Regions from separate parts of the Homo sapiens genome. Here region 1 is linked to region 2. The links are contacts of gene promoters, found by promoter capture Hi-C in blood cells and fetal thymus (Javierre and others, 2016). All regions are on one chromosome and are shown on one strand. The core of a region is centred on a gene start or on the middle of the fragment in contact, and the rest is flanking DNA. Distances in the headings are between cores, read along the strand shown.

What was found. The method cuts DNA at HindIII sites, captures the fragments that hold promoters and counts their contacts. A CHiCAGO score of 5 or more calls a contact.
Region 1: a fragment that was not itself captured here is called in contact with the fragment with the promoter of LDHA in region 2 in 1 of 17 cell types (neutrophils); the score reaches 5.7 in neutrophils.

Annotation. Positions count from the first base shown.
Region 1 is chr11:19,105,875-19,110,670 of GRCh38, forward strand. No RefSeq gene overlaps it. Among named protein-coding and RNA genes, the nearest start is that of ZDHHC13, 8.9 kb to the right of the region's middle. The HindIII fragment of the contact is 5,919 bases long and covers 436-4,796 here.
Region 2 is chr11:18,391,076-18,395,920 of GRCh38, forward strand. LDHA (lactate dehydrogenase A) reads left to right here and starts at 3,488. Exons shown (of 8, transcript NM_005566.4): 1 at 3,488-3,561. RefSeq lists enhancers at 2,783-3,447, 3,094-3,183, 3,448-4,113, 3,494-3,583 and a silencer at 4,344-4,393. The HindIII fragment of the contact is 13,104 bases long and covers 1-4,845 here.

The DNA.
Region 1 (4,796 bases), core at 2,145-4,644, 710 kb after region 2:
AATTTCATTTCCACTGCTTTGTTCTGCTATGGGTTTTAAGGAGGCTTGGACACTGGAATTACATTCCCTGGATTCTCTTGCCAATCGGCTTTCAGATAGAAAGCCAGTGAGGCCTTCTATAAGCCTAATAAGGCACTGGTGGGAAATTGGAAGACAAGAGGAAGAGAGAAGAGGCTCTTTTCCTGCTTCAGACTTCTGTTAGCAACCTTCCAACAGGCACGGAGAACAACGGGTGTTTTGGGCACTTCTAGCACCCACTAATGGAGCTACTTCCTCAGAGCCTAAGCAGCTCTCCAATCAGCGTGCACAGTGCCCACCATGGTCTTGGCACCAGCCACCTGTGGTCAAAGCACCAGCCCAGGCCTCCCCATCTCCTGGGTTCTAGATCTGGTAACAACACCTCTACTCTTTTGTTCCCACAACCTTAGGAATGGAAGCTTCTTTTGGCAGTTACTAAGCTCTGAGTCCATTTAAAATCGCTCTTTGCTCTCTCAACCCTTCCAACACTGTGTAAGCACTTTCTTATGTTAAATTCCCGCATTTAAAATATCTAGAGAGATATGTGTTCTCATGACTGGACCCTGTGAACCCTGGCTGATATTTAGGCTCTCAATAAATACTTGTTGAATACGCAGAATTTAGCCCCAAGTTTATATTCTTAGAATTCATAGTTCAAAAGAAAGAAACTTGGCTTTTACAGCATCAATAGATCAAATTATATGAAAGTACTCTTATTGGCCCTGTTTTGGGCACATGCTCCCCCCCACCTCACCCCGACAATCCCCCTGGGCAAAATGATGGTGTACCTTGATTGGTCAGGCCTGGCTCAGGGACTCAGCCCTATGGCTCATAGCAGGCAGGATACTGAAATTGACAATCCCACCTAAACCACTTAGGGTAAGGGAGAGGCACTTCCCCAGTGGAAGATGGGCAGACAAAAAAGAAATTTTCCTACCACAATGAACTTATAGTCTTGGGGGATATGATTTAAAAATTGTCCTAATATAATGTGGTAAAGCACCAGGTGTTCTGGGAGCAGGGGGGAGCATTTATTCTACAAAGTCCTTTCATATACATGAAACAATTTGTTCCTCACAATGCCAACCACTATGAAGTTGGCATCCTCATCCTCACTATATAGAATCTTTGGCCTCCTATGATCTGTCTCTTCTCTTTTTGACTTCAAGTCCCTCTTTGTCAAGCTCCCTTAGCCAGGCCACCCCACCCTCAGCTTTCTTTTCATTCCCAGATATCTCAACCTCATTCCTTTTTTTAATGTAGAATTCTTCTGACTTGATGGCAAATAAGTTGTCCTTGGTCCCATAACAATATTGGCACCTATCACTATACAAAACACCCACCCTAAGGCAAACACCATACCATATGCTTTACACACATTCTCTCATTTAGTCTTCTTAACAGCCTTACAAAATAGTAGTAGAATTGCAGAAAGATTGTGTGACTTAGCCAAGGCTACTTGGCAAGAGCTGGGATATAAAGCTAGCTCTGTCTGGCTCCCACAACAGCAGCATCTCCTCCACTTGGTTTCCACACCAACTGAGGGATGGTTGAAAGAGCTGGGGATGTTTAATCAGGGGGACAACACACTTAGGGGTACCATTATCCATTCAAGTATCTAATGGGCGGTGAAGTAGAAGAGAGAATTCACTGGAATTTTTGTGGCGCCATAACCAAGGAAAAAGGACCGATTATAAACATAAAAGTGAGGGATAGTTGGCCGGGCGCGGTGCCTCACGCCTGTAATCCCAGCACTTTGGGAGGCCGAGGCAGGCGGATCACGAGATCAGGAGATCGAGACCATCCTGGCTAACACGGTGAAATGCCGTCTCTACTAAAAATACAAAAAAATTTAGCCGGGGGTGGTGGCGGGCGCCTGTAGTCCCAGCTACTTGGGAGGCTGAGGCAGGAGAATGGCGTGAACCCGGGAGGCGGAGCTTGCAGTGAGCTGAAATCGCACCACTGTACTCCAGCCTGGGAGACAGCGAGACTCCGTCTCAAAAAAAAAAAAAAAAAAAAAAGTGAGGGATACTTCTGTCCAATGTAACCAGTATGATAGAAGGTAGTGAGTATCCCACCACTGTGGGTATTCAAGGAGATAGTGCCAACAGCTTTTAAGGGATGTGGGAGAGTGAGAGAACTCTGACTCAGGGAGCATATTGGGTAGAGGATTTCTAAAGATCCTACAACTATGAAATTACTCCTTGTTTTCTGCTAACCCCATTTCCTCAAGTTAGAATCCTTGCAAGTCTGACTCAAGATTCTGGATCAATTCCAGAGGGTAAACTGTTTTGTTTTTAAGTTAAGCCCTGTCACAGTGGCTCACACCTGTAATCCCAGCACTTTGGGAGGCTGATGTGGGAGGATTGCTTGAGCCCAGGAGTTTGAGACCAGCCTGGGCAACAAAGTGAGATCCCGTCTCTACAAAAAGTTGAAAAATTAGCCAGACATGGTGCCTGTGATCCCAGTTACTCAGGAGGCTAAGGCTGGAGGATCACCTGAGCCCAGGAGGTCAAGGCTACAGCGAGCTGAGACCATGCCACTGCACTCCAGCCTGGGCAACAGAGTGAGACCCTGTCTCAAAGAAAAAAAAAAGTTAAGCCAAAAGACACGTTCGTTGGAAACAAAACAAAACACGTTGATAATATGAACATACCATAGGGACACGTTGTACATTTTTATGCGTCTTTAAGCATTTTAATCTGTCTCAGACTTTTCCAGAGTTTTTAGTTTCATGTTTATCATTTTAAAAATACTCCATTTTTATCCAATTAAGATGACTGTGCTTGTTTGAAAATAGTTTTACTGATTTTAATATTCCGCCTCAGACTCTAAGAGAATTACAACAGGAGCTGAGCTTGTGTTCGGCACGTGGGATCAAGCCCTAACAGCACCACTTTGTTTGCCGTATGTGGCCTTGCCCTGCATGCAGCTCTGAGGCTGAGCTCTTAACATGAAATGGGAAATAGAGCCCTTCCTCCTTCCTCCGAGGTTGTCCTGGGAGAGCTTGGCTGGTGGGAGTGCTGCATGAAAGAAAGGACCCGGCTGGGGCATGAGGTGAAGGGCTGACAAATGGGCGGAGTGCCCACACTCTGAGAGGCATCTTGGAGGCATTTCCTTCTGTCTCCCTTTACCTCGCCCATGGGTCTATCACCCCAGGCTTTGTGCTAAGGGGAAGATGTGGGACTGTTTCTCTCGTCCTGAGGCAGGAGTCCAACTGTCCAACAGGACAATCTGCTATAAGTGTCCATAGATGTTTGGAATTGGGATCAAACTAACTTGGCCTTGGAGCTGAGGACTCATTTCTTTCTCATCTGTGGCATACGTGGAGCTACTGTTTCCCAAGCTCCATTTTGCAGGTGAGGAAACCAAGACCCAGAGAGGTTCCCTGTCTTGCCAGAGGTCAGGCAGCTGGTCACGCTGTGTAAAGACTTGAAAGCTGGGCCTCCTGATGCCCAGCCCGGTGCTCCTTTCACTGCTTGCACAGTTCTTCCTCCATGTGCAACTTCCCGTCAGGCTGGTAGAGGAAGAAGCTGAGCCAAGGAAGGGTGGGATCTTGCCATAGGCCTTCTGTGGGTCTGTAATGTGGCCCAGCTGTGATCACAGCTGGAGGCCTGGCCTCTAGTGCCCTGGATCCAGGTCCCTAGTGACACTGTGTCTTGAACCTCCTTTCTAATTTGCCCCATCCTGGGGACATGCCAGCCTGAGAGCTCTTCCTGTTGGGGTCAGGTGTGGCCCCCACAGCCTTAAGACACTTGAGTTTCTGATACGGCTGGTGTCAGCGCCTGTGCCATGAGCACCACCGTTGCTCCTCCAGCTTCCCACAGAAAGGGTAACTGGTGGGCCATCTTTCTCCTGAACCAACTCTGAGTGGGGGCAGGACGTGTGAAATTTGAAAATGAGTCATATGACTAACTGAAATTAGGAGGCACCATGCCCCGATTAACCTCAAATTTAGTGCTTCCTTCCCCGTTCCTACCCAACCATGTCCTAATAATGAGTTTCCTGACAATTTTTATCCCTCACTCAACAAGTATTTATAAAATACCTACCTGTGTATGTTCTGTACTAGGCTCTGGGGATGCAACGATGACAGAAAGAACCCTTAACTCACAGACAAGCTGGAGGCAGAGGCAGAGGCAGAGGAGTAAACAGGCAGTTACAATATAGCAAGACAAGCACCATGCCAGAATGCTGAGGGGCTGTAGAGGATATCAGTCACCACAGTCCCGGGGATAATGGGACGTTTTGTACAAGGGGTAACATCCGATTCTTCTCCTCCTCCTCTTCCTGCAGAATTCCAATCTATCATTTTATTCAGTGTTCTGCCTCTCCTGCCATCATGCCTATTGCCCTTGCTTGCAACAATCCACATGTCCAGAAATCAGATACATTAGCAACTCAGTAGCCTTGGGAATGATCCCAGCGCCTTCAGCTTGGGAAATCCTGATTTTGCCATGTTTCACCATCTATGCAAAGCACAATGCAGAATTATTTTATATAGAAACTGAGATGAAAGGTAACCATTTGGCCTCAGATGGTGCCACCTTCTGTATCTTGAACAACTTGCAACACAGCTGGCCAGCTTGGCCCATTACCAGGGACACCACTCTATCACTATAATTAGAGCAGCAGTCAACAAGAGATTAAACCAGCGCTTGTTCTTCCATGAAAGCAGAGCTGAGGGGAATGCAGCTTTTCTCATGAGCACAAGTAATTTAGTGTGTAGGGCAGGCTGGTGATGGAAGGAGAACAATTACTTGTTTAATGTCACCTGT
Region 2 (4,845 bases), core at 2,238-4,737:
GGGTTCACCATGTTGCCCAGGCTGGTCTTGAACTCCTGGGCTCAATCTGCCTGCCTCAGCCTTCCAAAGTGCTGGGATTACAGGCATGAGCCACCATGTCCAGCCCCTCTGCTTCCTGGGTTCAAGCAATTCTCCTGCTTCAGCCTCCCAAGTAGCTGGGGATTACAGGCATGTACCACCACGCCCGGCTAATTTTTTTATTTAGTAGAGATGGGGTTTCATCATGTTGGTCAGGCCGGTCTTGAACTCCTGACCTCAGGTAATCCGCCCACCTCGGCCTCCCAAAGTGCTGGGATTAGAGGCATGAGCCACTGCACCTGGCCAACACATTTTCTTTATCATCCATCCATTGATGACACTTAGATTGAGTTCATCCATACTTCAGCTATTGTGAATAGTGCTGCAATAGTCATGGGAGTGCAGATATCTGTTTGATATACTGATTTCGTTTCTTTTGGATATATACTCAGATTGCTGGATCATATGGAAGTTGCAGTTTTAGTTTTTTGAGGGGTCTCCATACTGTTTTCCATAGTGACTGTGCTAGGGGTTTTCCCTTTTGAAGAGGCCACATCCAAAGAACACTTGGTCAGATTAAGAATTCTGTTCTGTCCCCTGAAAGTGTTTTCTGACCTGTTCCAAGGGTTCCACATTCTTCTCTGGCTTTAGTACAGAAGTTCTACTGTTTGGATTGTATTAGTCAGGGTTCTATATTAGTCAGGGTTCTCCAGAGAAACAGAACCAATGGAAGAATATATATAAAGAGATTTATGAGGAGGAATTTACTTATGTGTTTATGCAGGCAGAGAAGTCCCATGATCTTGCCATCTGCAAGCTGGAGACTCAGGAAAGCTGGTGGTATAAATTCCAGTTCGAGCCCAAAGGCCTGAGAATCAGGAGAGCCAAGGGTCTAAGTCCCAGTCTAAGGGCAGAATACCAAGGTCTCAGCAGATACACCCATTGGCACCCACAGCCTCTTCTGAGCCTGGGACTGGTTTGGGCCCCCTAGATAATTTCTTGCCCTTTGTATGGAGTGATGTGGGACAACATCCTATAATAGAGAGAAAATCATAGGCTTTGGGGTTAGTCAGCACTGGGTTAAAGTCTCAGCCAAAATCACTTACTAGCTGCACTACCTTAGCAAAGTCACTTACCTTTCTGAGCCTTGGTTTCCATATCTGAAAAATGGGGATAATTATGCCTACTCCAAAGGATGAGTATGGGGATTACCTAGCTGGCTGCCAGCACCATAGCAGGTGCTCAGTAAATGGTATTTGTTTTATTCATATTTGTGGAGTCAAATACTGGCTGTTGTTCTGCCTAAGAAGCCTGAAGCTGTGCTTGGAGCAAGCTGTTGCTAGGTATCATAAATTAGGGGAATGAAGACTCTACCTAGTTTATCTTCACAGGTCATCTCAGAGTGCCCCAACCCAAGCCTTTCAGGTGAAAATTCTTCGTCTCCCCAGCCAACTTCAGCTCTCTGCCTTCTGCACACCTCTTCCCAGCAGCAGTGGTCACATTTGGTAGGCAGGCAGGGGCCCAGCCCTGACTGAGAACACTGTTGCAAAGACTGAGAAACCGGAAAACACTGTGGCAATCTGCCCTGCCCTGAGGTACTCTGAAGAATCAGTGGCCCACCCCTAAACTTTCCAGCTGTGTGTTTGAGGTGAGAGCCCCATTTCAGAACCTAGAGTGATCTTAGAATCTAGAGTGATGGGAAAACTGTTAGAACATGCAAGCATGCCCTGCTATTTTTTTTTTTTTTTTGAGACAGGGTCTCACTATGCTGCCCAGGCTAGTCTCGAACTCCTGGCCTCAAGCAGTCCTCCCACCTCAACCACATTGGTGCTGGGATTACAGGCATGAGTCACTGCACCTGGCCCCTTGTGCTATTTTGGAGCTGAGGTTAGAGTTTTCCGTCAAAACCAAGAAACTCAGTTATGGATCTATCTCAAAGCTGCACTGGGCTGCTGCTGTAGGTTCAGGGAGTAAGTAAAGCCATCCACCCCTTTGGGCTGAAAGTTCCAGCCCTCTAATTCCCTAATCATTTGGTCTTTCCCATGACTGGCTCCTTCCTGAGGCTATCTAAGACTCCTCATTCATTAACATTAAGTCAGGGAAAAAGGCTCTTTATAAATAACAAAAGACATTCCTATCAGAAAATTCAGGAAATTTTGGCATACTCAAGGGCTTACCAAATATATTTCATAATATACCCCACAGTGGGGAAGTATTGGTACAAATTAAAGAAGAGATGGAGGAGGGCGGGCTAGGCAATGGAATCAGCAAGAATACAGGCCCAGAGGTAAGTATGATAAGAAAACAAAAAATTGAGCTGGGCACGGTGGCTCACGCCTGTAATCCCAGCTCTTTGTGAGGCCGAGGCGGCCAGATCACTTGAGGCCAGGAGTTTGAGATCAGCCTGACCAACATGGTGAAACCCCGTCTCTACTAAAAATTACAAAAATTAGCCGGGCGTGGTGGCGCCTGGCTGTAATCCCATCTTCTCAGGAGGCTGAGGCAGGAGATTCGCTTGAACCCGGGAGGCGGAGGTTGCAGTGAGCCGAGATCAGCCCACTGCACTCCAGCCTGGGCGACAGAGCGACTCCGTTTCAAAAAAAAAAAAATTAATAATTAAAAAAAAAATCGCAGGGCAAGTGGGCGCGCTTGTAGTCCCAGTCACTTCGGGGAGCCGAGGTGGGAGGATCGCTTGAGCCAGAAGGTCGAGGCTGCAGGAAGCCATGATCACGCCACTGCCCTCCAGCCTGGGTGACAGAGTGAGACCCTGTCTCGAAAAATACCAAAAAACAAATAAACAAACAAAAAACCAAAACCAAAAAAACAAGCCACTGACAGTTCTTGGGTATGGTTGAGACTCGAGATGAGATGCCAGTGGGGTGGGCAGTAGAAAGTGCAGAATAAAATGTACATTTGAACTGAGTCACCCTGCAAGGCCTGAGAGGCCAAGGCTTCACTGTGAGTGGGAGCTGGTAGGCTTAGCAGCAGAGGGAAAAGCAGCGTCGAGTTTTGGAGGTCACTCGACTTAGGTAAGAACAGACTGACTGACTGCTAGGCATTTTCTTCCTTTCGTTCAACAAATATTTGTGGAGTGCCTATTACGTGCCAGAAGCTGTTCTGGACACTGAGAAACAGGGATGAAGAAGAAACAGATCCAAGCCTTCCTGAGAGTAACCTCCCCAGGTTTCATGGATGAGGAAACTGAAGGTCGTCCTGACTCAGGCTCATGGCTCCGACCCCGGCTTCTGTGGTTGGAGGGCAGCACCTTACTTAGACTCCCAGCGCACGTGGAGCAGTCTGCCGGTCGGTTGTCTGGCTGCGCGCGCCACCCGGGCCTCTCCAGTGCCCCGCCTGGCTCGGCATCCACCCCCAGCCCGACTCACACGTGGGTTCCCGCACGTCCGCCGGCCCCCCCCGCTGACGTCAGCATAGCTGTTCCACTTAAGGCCCCTCCCGCGCCCAGCTCAGAGTGCTGCAGCCGCTGCCGCCGATTCCGGATCTCATTGCCACGCGCCCCCGACGACCGCCCGACGTGCATTCCCGGTACGGTAGGGCCCTGCGCGCACGGCGCCAGAGGGATGGGCGGGTAGAGCCAACTGCCTCTGGTTCTGCTGGCCTCCGCTGCTCGCGAAGGGATTCCTGCTCCCGGGAGGTGTAGGAGCCGCTTTCCAGAAGCACAGCCCAGAGACGTCTGGGCGGCGGCCCACACAACGCATGTGTTCGGAGCTCGCCGCGCTCTGCTTTTGCTCTAAGCGGGAACCATGGCTTCTGGCCACGCTGGGGAACCGAGGAGGTGGCCGCACCCAAGCAGGGGTCGAAAGCCCGGGTGGATGCGGAACAAGGATATGATAGGCCTTAAGGGTGGGGGATACCTCTGGGCTCGAAATCGGCGGGCGGTGCAAAACTCGAGGTCCAGTTCTCGGAGCCCATAGAGCCAAAAAAGCCTCAGCTTGTCCGGGGCGGGTTCTTGAAAGACGGAAAGCGGCTGAGTACCACGCGGCTTGCATTTTTCTCTTGGGACGCTCGAGAGGTGGGCTCCGTGAGGGCAGCTGCTGCCTGCAGATTATAGGGAGCCCTTTGCGCATTTATTAAGAAGCTACTGGTGTATCTCGGGCTGCGCTAGGCACGGCGCATGCAAAGATGAAGCAGGCAGCATCCCAGCCCTTCCGCACCTCAGACGGTCAGTTGAGTAGGATCCGCCGGTACCAACTCCTCCTTTTAACAAATAGGGAGACCGAAAGCTAGGAGACAGTCAGGGATCTCTAAGTTCCCAGTGAGTAGGAGGCAGAGGTGAGGTGTAGAACTCGTTTTTGCATGTCTCTCGCCTCTAGACGCACCCTTCCCTCATCCCATGCCCTCCCACCTCCGCCCCTACATTAAAGGTAGCATTGGATCCCGGGGCCGTTCAGTGAAGCTAGCAGGTGTCCGCAGGAACTCCCTTCCCCCTGCCAGGCTAGAAACCTTACAAGGCTGTCTAGAAATAGCAGTGATTTGTAAGGAGAGACCCGGCTCCAGCTTGGTGACTCTGGGCTGACTGCCTGCCTAGAGGTCCTCTCGGATTTTTGCCCTTTGGAGTGGTGTCAAAACTAGACGTGATACTTTGGGGATGCAGCCTGTGATATTTCCTCCAGCGAATGCAGTGCAGGGTTGGATTAACAAGGTGGAAAGAATTCGAGGGTTCCACCAAGTAGCTATTAACTCTAGGGCTGCAGGCCTCAGGCCTTCTGCAGCTATTTCTACACTCCCTGTACTGAAACTATTTCTTCATACTGGGCCTGACAGGCCTTTGCAACAAGGATCACGGCCGAAGCCACACCGTGCGCCTCC